Regions from separate parts of the Homo sapiens genome. Here all the other regions are linked to region 1. Evidence: promoter capture Hi-C in 16 types of primary human blood cells and fetal thymus (Javierre and others, 2016). All regions are on one chromosome and are shown on one strand. Each heading gives the region's core, a stretch centred on a gene start or on the middle of the fragment in contact. The rest is flanking DNA. Distances are from core to core; before and after follow the strand shown.

What was found. Contacts are between HindIII fragments. The CHiCAGO score rates a contact against its expected background, and 5 or more counts as called.
Region 2: a fragment that was not itself captured here is called in contact with the fragment with the promoter of FLT1 in region 1 in 2 of 17 cell types (endothelial precursors and M1 macrophages); the score reaches 5.7 in endothelial precursors.
Region 3: a fragment that was not itself captured here is called in contact with the fragment with the promoter of FLT1 in region 1 in 4 of 17 cell types (M2 macrophages, M0 macrophages, M1 macrophages and 1 more); the score reaches 9.6 in M2 macrophages.
Region 4: a fragment that was not itself captured here is called in contact with the fragment with the promoter of FLT1 in region 1 in 1 of 17 cell types (monocytes); the score reaches 8.0 in monocytes.

The regions. Positions count from the first base shown.
Region 1 is chr13:28,492,978-28,496,705 of GRCh38, forward strand. FLT1 (fms related receptor tyrosine kinase 1) reads right to left here and starts at 2,151. Exons shown (of 30, transcript NM_002019.4): 1 at 1,803-2,151. The coding sequence starts at 1,866. RefSeq lists silencers at 1,637-1,686, 1,767-1,886, 2,007-2,056. The HindIII fragment of the contact is 4,512 bases long and covers 537-3,728 here.
Region 2 is chr13:28,303,039-28,306,766 of GRCh38, forward strand. FLT1 (fms related receptor tyrosine kinase 1) reads right to left here. Exons shown (of 30, transcript NM_002019.4): 29 at 3,640-3,728; 30 at 1-330. The coding sequence ends at 129. Among named protein-coding and RNA genes, the nearest start is that of PAN3-AS1, 170 kb to the left of the region's middle. The HindIII fragment of the contact is 1,575 bases long and covers 1,061-2,635 here.
Region 3 is chr13:28,654,075-28,657,802 of GRCh38, forward strand. No RefSeq gene overlaps it. Among named protein-coding and RNA genes, the nearest start is that of POMP, 3.2 kb to the right of the region's middle. The HindIII fragment of the contact is 460 bases long and covers 1,785-2,244 here.
Region 4 is chr13:28,358,654-28,362,381 of GRCh38, forward strand. The region is part of intron 14 of FLT1 (fms related receptor tyrosine kinase 1); the gene reads right to left. Among named protein-coding and RNA genes, the nearest start is that of FLT1, 130 kb to the right of the region's middle. The HindIII fragment of the contact is 3,220 bases long and covers 464-3,683 here.

The DNA of each region.
Region 1 (3,728 bases), core at 901-3,400:
CTGCTGCCCCATTTAAGTAAATTATAATCTAAGAAAAATCACAAGAGGATCCCACTCACATTTCTGTAAAGTTTCCACTGATCTAAGATGCTTCCAATTACAAAGAAAACGATGCTTCACTAAAGTCAGCATGTTTTCAAAATAAAGATATAATTATGTGAAGCAGAAAATCTAATAAATCACGTACTTTTCCCTCCGTAATTTTAGATTCATGTAATTTAGCTAGATTTATCTTTACATAATAGTCGAGTGAGGTATTTAAATTCTCTAAGCAATTATATTTTAATACAAGTGACTTTTCAAAACAAAAAATGTATTTGTGAAATAGAAAATACAACATTTTATTTAATATAGTTATGTTAGCACCTTTCCCAACCTACAGTGAGTTCTCAGAAGTTACCACTTCGCCCTGTCTCCGGGTTTAGTAGTTTCTCCAATCTAATTGGAACTATTACTTGTTACTTGGAAACTGACGGTCTAGTTAGTCTTCCCACTGAGAAAGAATATTTAATTATTACTGCTTTTTGGGTTTAACAAGCTTTTTGTTGTTGTTGTTGTTGTACTACGCTCCATCCTATTGACTTTTCTTCCCGGGAATCATTGCAATGACTTATTTTATATTACTATATTTTATTTCATATTTTACCTTTTCTCCACGATGCTTAAAAGAAAGGCGCTCCGAAATCTGGCTCTCTGCGCCCAGGGGAACGAGGCACAAATCTCCGCCACTCAGCCCCACTGAGCAGAGACTGCGAGTCCGAACCCTCAAGTTCCTCGGGGCTTTGACCCCTCAATGGCGGCGGTCTAACTGCTGGTAAAACCCCCGGCCCCTGACTGTTCCACCGCCCGTCTCCCAAACGCCCAGCGAAGGCTGACTTAGGTGGCGGGCGGACCTCATCGATTCCTCAAACCACATCGTTTGGTCAAAATCGCCCGCCCTCTCTTCGCTCGGATTTTAAAGGCTAGGCTTGTAAGTCAGTAAGTTAACGGTATTTGGGCCCTGGGCTGCCCTTGTGGGTCAGGGTCACTGATGTCCGCGACACGGACTGGACCGCGCACCACGCCTGCTCCCGGCAGAGGCCCCACCCGGGTGGCTGAGCGCAGCGCACTGGGGCCCCGCGGTCCGAGAGCGGCGGGGAGGAGCGGGCGCTCGCCGAGCGTTCCCCGGGACAGTCCGGCTTGGGGACTCAAGCGGGTCATGGGATGCCGGCGCTGGCCCTCTCCTGAGATCCTCCTGCTCCCCCGCAGGCACGAGTCCCCTCCAAATCGGCTCCCCTCCTACACTCTCGTGACGCGAGGTCGCGGCCAGTGCCCAATATCACCAAAGTCCCGGCCTCAGCCCAGCCCCGGGCAGCCTGGCAGGCTTTCAGGAGCCTCTGCTCCCGGCTCCGGGGGACCCTGCGTACCTGCCCCAGGTCCTCTGGGAATGGGCTCTGGGTGCCAGGCAGGTCCCGGTGCGTGCTGCTCCTAGTGCCCAGGGCCTCGGCAGTGAGACCCCAACCCGACAGCTGGATAAGGGATCAGCGATCCTGTCGCAAACGGACAGCCCCAGCGCGGACCCGGTCTGAGCGCTGATGCTCGCGGGTCCAGGCCAGCCACTCCTCGAGGCGCTCCCTCGGAGAAAGGGCGCAGCGGCCCCAAGCGTGCCCGCTGCAACTAGTGTCCCAGGTTCTCGCCGTAGCCAGCTTCTCCGGGCTACAGCCTCGTCTCCCCGCGTGCACCCCGCCCTGGCCTCGGAGGCTCTGCCCTCCGGCCGCCCCATCGCAGCCCGCCTCAGGCCCCGGCCCCCAGCCGCGCCTCACCTGTGAGAAGCAGACAGCTGAGCAGCGCGCACAGCAGGACCCCGGTGTCCCAGTAGCTGACCATGGTGAGCGCGACGCGGCCTGCTCGCCCGGTGCCCGCGCTCCCCGCGGCCAACGACCCGGCCGCCAGAGTCCGTCCTCTCGTTCGCCGCCGCCGGCCCCGCGCCCTGAGCGCCCGTCTCGCGGCTCCAGCCAGGAGACAACCACTTCCCCGGGTAATCCTCGCCGCCAGGCGCCCGCTGGCCGCTGCACCCGAGCCCCGGAGCCCGCTCCGAGCCGCCGCCGCTGCCGGGGAGGAGCCGAGAGGAGTGTCCGCCTGGCGCGCTCCGAGCCTCCCGCGGACCTCGATGAAGAGCAGCCGAGGGCGGGGGCGATTTATAACCTTTCCCCAGCCCACTTCCTACCCCGGCACCTCCTTCTGGTGACGTCAAGGGGTCCCCCACCCCTCATCCGCCTCCCCACCTACCCTCTTCTTCCTCCCAGGCTCGCTTCCCTGCGGCTACGGAGAGGGGCGGGGGCCGACGAGGGCGGGTGGCCCGGGGCCGAGCGCGCGTGGGGAGGTGCTGGCGACGCGGGCCCGGGAGCGCGGCCCCGGCAGGTTCAGGGTCTTTGCTCCGCGCCCTCTTGCCCTTGCCCCTCCTCCTGCCCATCGCGCTCAGGAAATCCTTGCAGACTCCCTCCACCCGGCTTACTCAGCTCTGGGGGCCGCCCGAAACTGGGGAAGGGACAAGGCTGAAGCTCCGCCGCCTGGCCCTAGGGGCGGAAAGTCCGATCCAAGGGAAGCTGGCCGCGCCTCCGCGACGGTGTTCTTGGCACGGAGGACTGAGGCGCAGTCCGGCTGTCTCCCCTTGCCTGCTCTTCCCGCGCTGTCCCGCCGCTCCTGACCCCTTCAGACTGTCCCGAGAAGTCTAGGAAGGCACCGGAGACCCTCGGCACAAGGCACTGAACCTGGAGCGCCTGAGGGGAACTGACGCTTGCTTGGCACCTTTGGGAAGACTGCGAACCAGCTCAGGTCCCAGGGGAGCGTGTCCGTGTCTTTTTCGGCCGCATTGATGCACCCGCCCAAGTCATTTCCTCAGTCTTCTGCTTCCTAGAAGCAAAACAAGGAATAACATTATGATACCTTTAAAAAGCTGAGGCGTGAAACTGCTCCTGCAACTTGGAAGCGCAGGGCACTTGAACTTTATTCCCTAAATGCTCGAAAAAGAAATCTTTCTGGTGGCAGCTTGCTACTCAAGATGAGTGACTCTGACCACAACCGGCTGAAATTAACTTGAGGCCCTAGATCATTTGCTATGACACTAATTCCACGTTGTTCCTCAATTATGTCTCCATTACCTCAAAGGCTGAAGTCGTCCTGGCTGCACGGAGCAGCCCAGTCTTGTCTCTGTAAATACCGCAGATTTGAAAAATAGTCCTATTGGAACCCGTCAGAGGGATGTAATACAAGGGACTGTGATGGCTCTTGAACGGAGCCAGAGACTCTTCCTGAAGGACTGGACTACCTCCCCGCCTAGGAAGGTTGGGTAACCCAAAGTTGCCACATTTCTGGGCTGCACACCAAGGAGAGGCCCCGGCCACTCCACACAGGAAATGCACGTCTGGGCACCTGGAGCCGCAGGACCTGAGCCACTAACTGTCCCTGGATCCCTTCTGCTTCAGAGGCAAGGAAGACTGCCGGAGTCATTGCTTGCCTGCTGGCTTCACCAGCGCTTTCTGTTTTTCCAGTTCTCCTCACCACTCTTCCTGGCGCCTTTCTCTGCCTCCCGCACCCCTGCCTCCTCTAAAACCCACAGCATCATCCCTCAGAACAGCTGGAAGCGGACAGCTGATCCTTCTCCTTGCTGGTCCCCCAGCCCAGAACACAGCCTGGGACATACGTGCGGAGCCACAGTGTCTGTTGGTCTCACCTGAGAGCTGCTTGTC
Region 2 (3,728 bases), core at 598-3,097, 190 kb before region 1:
ACAAAAAGCAGCTGGCTCCCATGGAAAGATAAAGGTGTAAACTTATATATGCATAATACTGGCAAAAGCTAGTTTCCTGGGGGTATAAATACACATGTGCTTCTAGAAATAAGGCTTCGTGTCAAACTCTAGATGGGTGGGGTGGAGTACAGGACCACCGAGTTGTAGTCTGGGGGCGGGGAGCAGCACGCGATTTTCCTTTCCAGCTCAGCGTGGTCGTAGGTGAACCTGCGCTTGCCTTCGCTGACGTGCCCACAGCTGGAATGGCAGAAACTGGGCCTGCTGACATCAGACAGCCCCGACTCCTTACTTTTACTGGTTACTCTCAAGCTAAAGAAAGAAAGGAAAGAAATCAAATATTCAAAATTGGTTTTTTAGAAAACAAAGACACTAAAATCTACTCTTTCTGAGTGGGTCATTTGTTCATACCTGTCTAGAGTTCATGGTTTTGGAACCCCCCCCCCCTCAATTGCTGTCAGATTTCCTCTGTTCTAAAGCTGCACACGGCCTCCCTCTTAACAGCTTGGTGTCATTGGGCAGAAAGACAGTGGCTGGGGGAGGGTATGAAATGTATGATAAGATAACGCAAATCCATAATCCAGGTGGAAAGTAACTCCAAGACTTGGGTGCAGCCCTCTCCTATTCTTGGGTCAAACAGCTTCTGTGGTAGGCTGAGAAATGCCTCCTACCCTCCAAAATATTCAAATTTTTCATATTTTATATCCCTTCTGGCCTCCAGAACTGCAAGAGAATAAATTTCTCTTGTAAGTTGCCAAGTTAGTGGTAACTTGTTACAACAGTCTCAAAAAACAATAAAGCTCCACACACACAAGTGAGTGCCTCTCTGCCTGTCGTGCCTGTGTTCTAGAAGAGGAAACGTTTTAGTCACGGTGCTGCTTATCACCAGCAAGGCTCAAGGGTGGAGAAACTTGCTTCTGGGTCCTCTGTGTTACATCCAGACTAGGACAGACACCTGAGGAAGAAGCGCTGCTCTTGCCCTTTAATATTCGTTCAAATTTTTTATTTTCAAAGGATCTGGGATGAGGCAGGGAACCCGTGAAGCTTGTTTTAGACCGGTCTGGACTAACGTGTCCATGTTCTATATTTTCAGTCTCAGAGTAGAGGATACAATTTATGGTCTTCTTTAACAAATATCTAGATAAAATTAGTCACCACCCATTTTCTGAAGTGTTCCAAAGTAGGAAACAAAAGAGCAAGTATCCTACCTTCCCCTTTGATCCATTCATTCCTCATTGGTGCCTCTGATCTACTGTAACTCAATTCTAATACCACTGTGCTCATGTGAAAAGGAAACACACACGCAGATGTTTGCCTGGAAATGCCCCTGTCTTTCCCATTTACTTGTGGCCGATGAGTTGTGCTAACTACATCACTTGGAGGCACTTGTTGCCATCCTTTGATTTAGATCAGGGTTCAAAAACTATAACCCATATCTGCCCACCTGTCTGGTGTTTTTTTTTTTAATGAGAGCTTTATGGAGATATAATTTACATAGTGCATAATTCGCCTATTTAAAATGTGTAAGCCAATGGTTTTTTGTATAGACACAAATTGTGCAACCATCACCATAATCAACTTTAGAGCGTTGTCATCATCCCCCAAAACGCACACCTGTTAGCAGTCTTTCTTCCTCACGCCCTCCAGCCCCAGCCCAAGGAAACTACTGGTCTACTTTCTGTCTCTAGATTTACCAATTCTGGGCATTTCATGTAAAAGGAATCATGCAATAGGAAATATTTTATGACTGGCTTCTTTTACTTAGCATAATATTTTCAAGGTTCATCCATATTGTAGCATGCATGCATACTTCACACTTTTTATTGACAATATTATATTGTGTGGATATACCATACTTTATTCATTGAGTCATCAACTGATGGATATTTAGGTTGTTTCTACTTTTGGCTATCATGAATAATGCTGCTATGAACATCTGTGTGCAAGTTTTGCTGTGGACATCAGTTTTCATTTCTCTTGAGTATATGCCTAGGAGTTGAATTGCTGAGTCTCGGGATAACTGTTTAACCTTATGGGCAACAGCTAAACTGTTTTCCAAAGTGACTGCCCCATTTTACATTTCCACCAGCAGTGTATGAGGGTTCCAATTTCTCCATATCCTCGCCACACTGACTTCATCTAGCTATCCTCATGGGCGTAAAGTGGTATCTTATGGTAATTTCTTTCCCTTTTTTCTCCCTCTGTCACCCAGGCTAGAGTGTAGTGGTGCAATTGTGGCTCACTGCAGCCTCAACCTCCCAAGCTCAAGTGATCCTCCCACCCCAGCCTCCCAAGTAGCTGGGACTACAGGCACATGCCAGCACACCCCGGCTAATTTCTGTAGTTTTAGTAGAGAAAGGGTTTTGCCATGTTGCTCCCGGGCTCAAGTGATCCACCCACCTCAGCCTCCCAAAGTGTTGAGACTACTGCATGAGCCACCACACCCAGCCCCTCATGGTAGTCTTGATTTGTATTTCCCTAATGACTGATGATGTTGAGCATCTTTTCGTGTACTCACTGGCCATGCCCACCTGTTTCTGTAAATACAGTGTGTGGGAACAGAGCCATGCCTACTTGATGATGTATTGTCTACGGTTGCTTTTTATACTATAATGCAAGCTTGCCCAACTTGTGGCCCACGGGCTGCATGAATCCCAGGATGGCTTTGAGTGCAGCCCAACACAAACTCGTAAACTTTCTTAAAACATTCTGAGATTTTTTTGCAACTTTTTTAGCTTACCAGCGATTGTCAGTGTCCGTGTATTTCATGTGTGACCCAAGATAATTATTCTTCCATTGTGGCCCAGGGAAGTCAAAAGATTGGACACCCCTGCTAATGGCAGTAGGGAGCATTTGCTGACTATCTAGCCCTTTAAAAAAATGGCTGCCTACCCCGGATTTAGGTGAAAGAGGAAAAGGTTCTGCCTTCGGGTGAGACAGGGACAGGCATTTGAATGAGGAAAGGAAGGAACATCCGACAGGTGCAGCTTTTCCCAGTCCAGCACCATTGCAAGGTAGAGACTCGCACAGAGAAGCTGCAGTGGCATTCGGTGGTGCATAAGGCAAGGACTCCCCAGTGGTGGCCACGGCGTGGAGGGAGGAGCTGGTGGACTACAAGCCAGGGCTTTGTGGAGAAATTGTCAAGTGAGAAAAGGGTGCCAGGATGAAATGGGAAAGTCATTCATCTGTAGGGGCTGAGCTCTCAGGGTACAGGTCTTAGCCCCGGAAAACAGTACTGTGTCTCCTCGTGTATGAACCCTGCCGGCATAGGGAGTGACAGCGGGGGCATCCTCTCCCACCGCCGGGAGCGTGTCTCTGTCTGCACCACGCATAGGTGGGCACATCAGGCTTCTTTCACCTGAGGCACTGTGCTGGCCACATCTGGACTGCCTGTCTTTGCAAGATTTTCTGCATGTTTTCCCCAGAGCTTGCTGCTCATATGTCCCGTTTGATGTTCCCCTTTTTTTGCCCTCTGGGGGGAAATGGTTTTCTGCAACTCCCGGATACCACAGTTCAGGAGGGCAAGTAGTCCTCAAACATCCCTCATTATACCACCTTCCCCCAGCATCTCCCCTCGTACCCCTCCATCAACTGATCACAGAAAAGATACCCAATTCTTACTCAATCTTGAGCGAGGCCTTGGGTTTGCTGTCAGTCCAGGTGAAGCGCTTCAGCATGGGAGAGGCCAACAGAGTGCTGCTGTCGCCCTG
Region 3 (3,728 bases), core at 765-3,264, 160 kb after region 1:
ATCCAAAAATATAATGGAATTGAAACCATCATGTATACATGTATATATTAGGCTTTGTGAGGCTCTGCACATGATACTTTTGGCAGATATGCTTTCTGAATTAAATTTTTATTTGGCTAATATTAAAATTACTCCATGCTCCCACATGTGGGCTGGCAAATGATGGGAGAAGGCTATAGTAAAAGAAATAGGTGTAGAATTTAAAACTCATTGCATATAATCTATCAGCTGTATGCTGTGCAGGCAAATGAATAGATTATGGTGAAAATATAAACCAATTCTGAGCACAGACAGACCTAAAATAGGGCTACAAAAGCATGAAAAATGGAATGCTAACTTGCGCCATGTCTGATGCAATGCAGATGTAAAGTAGTAAAATAAAACTCCTGGATTCCAAATAGTCTACTCTAGTACTTATTCTCAAAACCCAGCTTTTCATAATCAGCAGACACTCTTTTAAAAGCAGCTGCATCTGAAATTATAGCTAGTAAAATATTTCAAAATATGAAACACTCATCTCTTAGGGTTAAAGGGTCAAATGAACTTGATATTTCTCCATCTCTTAACACATAGGAAGGGGCTTGCAGAGAAGATTTGTAAATATGACTTATCCTAAATTATGCATATTGAACCCTTCCCAACACTGTAAGAATTTAAATCATTTAAAGAAGATCTGGATATATTTTTTATAACTTATAGATTCTTTTCAGGCCCTCGAAAACCTAGTAATTTTCTTATTGTTTAAGATTTGTATAATACCACTACCCTTATATGAACTACTCCTCCACCCCTAGCCTTGTAGGGAAGCATAATTTTTTTTTTTTTTTTTTTTTTTTTTGAGACAGGGTCTCGCTCTGTCGCCCAGGCTGGAGTGCAGTGGCACCATCTCGGCTCACTGCAACCTCCACCTCCTGGGTTCAAGTGATTCTCCTGCCTCAGCCTCCCGAGTAGCTGGGATTACAGGCGTGCACCACCATGCCCAGCTAATTTTATATTTTTAGTAGACACAGGGTTTCACCATGTTGGCCAGGCTGGTCTTGAACTCCTGACCTCAGGTGATCCACCTGCCTCAGCCTCCCAAAGTGCTAGGATTACAGGAGTGAGTCTCTGCGCCTGGGCCTGCCTCCTTTTTCTAACAGCTGCATCTTTGTCCTTGATTCCCTCTCACAACTGTTCTGGGCATCTGAGAGATCATTATCTCAATCATTCCTTCTTGCTGCTTCTCTTCCCTGCTGTCTTCACTCTTGCCCCTTCACCAACTCTTTCTAACATCTGCCTAACAAACTTTGGTCTGTCCAATCATGCACATGAAACAAAAACAAAACCCAACTTTCATTCAAACCAAAATCCTGATTCTATTTTTTGAAATGGACAACTTTCTGAAAAGAATGATCTATAAAATTTGGCTGCCTCCATTTTCTTCTTATAAATTCTTCATTCCTAACAATCTGGTTTATAGTTAAACTGCTCACCAGAAGATTATGCAAATGACATCCCATTTGCCAAACCCCATCGATCTTCCCATAATCATTATCTGACATCACTGGTCATTCCCTTATCTCAACATCGTATCTTCCTTAGCTCTGAGACATTTTCAGACCTCTCTTCTCTATGCCTCTTCCAGCTTCTTAAGTTCTAAAGAGACACTCACTACATACTAGATTTCAAAATCCTGCTGAGTACCTGCCTAAAGTATGCAAGGCACTGTGCTGTGGAGACAAAGCAGCTTTTAAGAGGGGGCTAACCAAGCAGGCTGGGTAATAGGGTTTGGGTGCCCAGGGCCAAGCTTAGGCAAATAACAGAAAAGAGCAAAGTTAAGTGTAATTTTAGATCGTTAGGGAGCACTAAAATTTAGGTCAGAAGACCCAAATTCAGCTGACAAGATGAAGTACAAGAATAGTACCCAAACAGGAGACAGATGAGGTAACAAATGGGGAAAGAGCTAGGAGGAGGGAGGAGGGTTCTTGCCAGATGTGAATGAAGCTGAATTTGTCCTCAGTTTACCTAGCTATGTCACCAGACTGACTTAAGAGTAAAGTCAAAGACGACTACAAAAAGTAAAACAAAATAGGGTGCTTGTTCTCATACAATGCCTCAGCATTTTCTGTGAAATGTGCATAATGATAGTATCTACCTCACAGGATTAATTGAAACAATATATGCAAAAAACTAAACCCTGGCCTGACATGTAACAAATGTTAGCTATCATTACTAATGTTCTATCCTCTAAGCTATTTAACATAAAGCTTAAGTAAACATAATTAAATCATTCCAGCATCAAATCTAATTTACTTCTTATTTAGCATACTCAAAAGTACCCCGTATTAGTTAATACTGTAACAAACCATTTAAAATAGGACATAAACTTGAGTGTAAGACTCAAAATAAAGGGAATTTTCTCCTTGCTGAGCCACTAAAACAACTCTTCACACTGGTCACCAAAAGCCTATTTTCAGGGCTTTATGATCCCTTTTTAGCTACTTTTGAACTACTTTCTAACCTCTCAATACTTCCTTGCCCTTTTGATTCGAAGATGGCATAGCCTTTAAAGCAGGCTCCCCTTCTTCTGGCTGTCTTTTGAATTCTGGTATTTCTTAGGTTCACTCCTACTTTTTCCTTCCTTTCAAAGCCTTTCCAGTATGTGACACTACCTTAGCGTACCATTAGTGGCTTAAATGGTATCCTGGTTCCTACTTTCTCCCAATCTTAGTCTGTCCTTCATGCTGCCACCAGAATTTTTTTTTTTTAATGCCAAATGTTTGTGAAAAGACCTCCATTATCTCCTGTTGTCTATAAGAAAAAGCCCTAAACCTCAGCATACCATAGAAGGCCCTTCGTTTTGGCCCCAACCTGTCCCTCCAACCTCATCTCATTTTGCTTCACCTGCTCACCCAGAGCTCCAGCCACAGGGAAATGTTTTCCATTACTCAGATAACAACACGACTTTTCACAGATCTCTTGCCTTTACATGTTCCTCTTCCGTGAATGCTGTTTTCTCCTGCTCCCAACAACTTTCTGGTTTAGCCCCTTTCTCTATCAAGCATTTATCACACTGCATTTTATTATTTTATTATTATTATTTGAGATGGAGTCTTGCTGTGTCACCTAGGCTGGAGTGCAGTGGCGTGATCTCTGCTCACTGCAACCTCTACCTCTCAGGTTCAAGCGACTCTCGTGCCTCAGTCTCCTGAATAGCTGGGACTACAAGCATGCACCATGATGTCTGGCTAATTTTTTTTTTTGTATCTTTAGTAGAGATGGGCTTTTGCCATGTTGGCCAGGCTGGTGTCGAACTACTGACCTCAAGTGATCTGCCTGCTTCCAGCTCCCAAAGTGCTAGGATTACAGGTGTGAGCCACTGCACCCAGCCCATGCTGCATTTTAAATATCTGTTTGCATGTCTATTTCCCCAGGAAAATATATAAGCATCTCAGGTACAGGGAATTGCTCTTTTCTTCTTTATAGCTCCAGAATCTAGTACCAAGCAAATGTTCAATACATATTCATTGAACTGTGAGCAATCAGCAAATGTTAAAATGATTTTTAAGAAAAGATTCGCAGTTTTACAATTTCTCAGGTGGAATTGACGGAAAGAAAAAAAGATGCAAACGAAACACTCCAACTCAAATCTCAGGATTAAACATGGCTATTGTGAAGGACCAGAAGACACCTAAAGGACAGCATGGCAGAACACATAACATCTGGAACTTCAAAGTTGTATGACCATG
Region 4 (3,728 bases), core at 824-3,323, 130 kb before region 1:
AGGCTAAGACATGGTATCTGTTGAGAAGGAAAAATTAATTCCTACCAAACACACACATTTACATTCTCTCTCTCCCACACATGCTCAACACATACACTCACACACACAAGCCAACAAATAGAAAATGTTTAATGAATGAGAATGAGTGAATACAGCACAGTATACCTAATTAAGTGGAAGGTCTGGCACAGGGAAGGAGATCAGTAAGGAAGGGTGTACTTGGGGAAGGCTGCATAGAAGAGGTGGGCCTCGAGTTGAGGTCTGAAGGATTGTCAGAGGTGAAATGAGAAACGGAAGCATGAGAAATGGCATGATGTGGAAATAAACAGGAATTGAGTACTTGTTCCAGAATAGTGATAAAACAGGCCTGGCCAGACTATAGGCTGTATTTCATTAGTTTAAATAGTTTGTATTTCTCTTATGAAAGATGTACTCAATATAGAAAAGTTGAGAAATATTTGAAAGCTTAAAAAAAGAAAATGTAATATTATAAAGCTATGATAATCAAAACAGCATGGTACTGTTATAAAAACAGATCCATCAACCAATGGAATAGGCAAGGGCCCAGAAATCAACCCAAACATCTATGGTCAACTGATTTTTGACAAGGTGCCAAGAACACACAATGGGGAAAGGACAGTCTCCTTAATAAGTGGTGTTGGGAAAACTGGATATCTACATACAGAAAAATGAAAATGGACCCTTCTCTCATCCCTTATATAAAAATGAACTCAATATGGATTAAAAACTTAAATGTAAGACCAGAAACTATAAAACTACTAGAAGAAAATGTGGGGGAAAAACTCCACGATATTGGTCTGGGAAGAGATTTCTTGGATATGACCCCAAAAGCACAGGCAACGAAAGCAAAAATAGGCAAATGGGATTGCATCAAACTAAAAACCTTTTGCACAGCAAAGGAAACAATTAATAGAGTGAAGAGACAACCTACAGATTGGGAAAAAGTATTTGCAAATCATACATCAGATAAGGAGCCAATATCCAAAATATACAAGGAACTCAAACTACTCAATAACAAGGAAACCAATAATCCTATTTAAAAATGGGCAAAGAAATCAAATAGACATTTTTCAAAAGAAGACAGATGGCCAACAGTTATATGAAAAAAATACTCACCATCTCCAATCACAAAAATGTAAATCAAAACCAAATGAGGCCAGGTGCAGTGGCTCATGCCTGTAATCCCAGCACTTTGGGAGGCCGAGGTGGGCAGATCATCTGAGGTCAAGAGTTCAAGACCAGCCTCGCCAACATGATGAAACCCAGTCTCTACTAAAAATACAAAAATTAGCGGGGTGTGGTGGCGAATGCCTGTAATCCTAACTACTTGGGAGGCTGCAGCAGGAGAATCACTTGAACTGGGGAGGCAGAGGTTGCAGTGAGCGAGATCGTGCCACTGCACTCCGGCCTGGGTGACAGAGCGAGACTTTGTCTCAAAAAACAAGAAAAAAACCAAATGAGATAGCACCTCACACCTATTAGATTAGCTATTATTAAAAAGATAAAAGATCACAAGTGTTGATGAGGATGTGGAAAGAAGGGAACCCTTATACACGGTTGGTGGCATTATAAATTGTTACGGCCATTTTGGAAAACCATATGGAGCCTCTCAAACAACTAAAAAGAAAACTGCTATATGATCTAGCAATCCCACTACTGGGTATCTACCCAAAGAAATTGAAATCAAGGATGCTGAAGAGATGTCTGCATTCCCATGTTTATTGCAGCATTATTCACAATAGCCAAGATATGGAGGCAACCTATGTGTCCATCAATGGATGAATAGATTTTTAAAATTTGGTGTATATATACAATGGAATACTACAGCCTTAAAAAATAACAGGAAATTCTGTCATTTATGACAATATGGATGAACCTAGAGGACATTATGTTGAGCGAAATAAGCCAGGCACTGAGAGACAAATGCTGCATGATTTCACTTATATGTGGAATCTAAAAAAGTTGAACTCATAGATGTAGAGAGTAGAGTGATGGTTACCACAGGCTGGGGTGGGGAGAGTTGGATACGGACAGGGAAGATATTGGTCACTGGGTACAAAGTTACAGTTAGATAAGAGGAATATGTTCTGGCATTCTATTACACAGCAAAGTGACAACAGCTAAAAATAATGCACATTTCAAAATAGCTAAAAGAGGATTTTAAGTGTTCCCACCACAAAGAAATGATATTTGAGCTGATGGGTATGCTAATCAGGCTTATTTGATCCTTCCCATTGTATACATGTATTAATATTAAAACATCACACTGTACCCCATGCATATATATAATTATTATTATTTGCCAATTAAAGAAATGGAAAAGGCCGGGCACGGTGGCTCATGCCTGTAATCCCAGCACTTGTGGGAGGCCGAGGTGGGTGGATCATGAGGTCTAGGAATTCGAGACCAGCCTATCCAATATGGTGACACCCCGTCTCTACTAAAAATACAAAAATTAGCCGGGCGTGGTGGCTCATGCCGGTAGTCCCAGCTACTCGGGAGGCTGAGGCAGAAGAATTGCTTGAAGCCGGGAGGCAGAGCTTGGAGTGAGCCAAGATGGTGCCCCTGCACTCCAGCCTGGGTGACAGAGCAAGACTCCATCTCAAAAAACAAAAAAAAAAGAAATGTAAAAAACACACAAACTCCAAACACCTACAATCTCACCTCCCAGATGTTGTTTCTTTAGTCTTTCTAAAGTGTACTTTCTGAAAACACAGTTTGTTCATTTATATAACAAATATTTTTTGAGCTCCTACTACGTACTAGACACTATTCTAGATACTGGTGATACACTATCAAGCAGAAGAAATCCTTGCCTACAAATTCTAGTTTTGGAGAATTACAAAGTGAGTATCAACAGATTAAGGTATTAGAGAAACCAGAGGAGACAACAATGAATTAAGTATGAACAAAAGATCTGAGGGATGGAGACAAATTATAAGGGTAATAACTTGCTTATTTTTGTAAGAAAGGAAATAAATAGCAAGAGTGGAGGATGAGCAGTATCGTCTAAAAAATTAAAAACACAAAACTTTGCTGATTTGATAGATGAAAATGATTGTTTTAATTTGTATTTCTTTGAACATTTTTTCATGTGTGTATTAGCCATTTTTATTTCAAAAGACCTGTTTTGAGTAGGTGACTGGAAAAGGTGAATTCAGATTAAGGAGAGCTTTGAAATCTTGGTTGAGGAGTTTCAATTCCATGTAGAAGGAAAGAGAATCACAAAGATTTTTGAGCATAGTGAAAGCGACATTTAAGGACGTTCAGTCTAGAAGGAGAATACAGCTGGACTGGAATGAGGAAAGCATAGCATCTGCAAGTCCTGCTCATCAGTTGTAATTCAGGCAAGGAATGATGAGGTCTCAAATCTGGATGGTGGGAAAGGAAGTAGAGAGGAAGAAATGGAAACAGATACTTTGTAGAAACAACCTATAGGAATTGGTGCTTTACTGGATACAGCAATAGAAAAAGAGAGAGATGAGTCCAAGGTGATTCCAATATTTTAAACCCAGATAACAGGGAAAAAATGACAGCTCTTCCCCATAACCTTGGCTAAGTCACTTAATCTTTTTGGGGCAAGTTCCTTACCTGTAAAATGAGAATAATACCTGCTCCACCTATTTCATGATCAATTGAGATAGCTTAAATGGAAGCATTGAAGCTTTGAGAAGTATAAGATATAGTACAAGTGGCAATCACAGAAA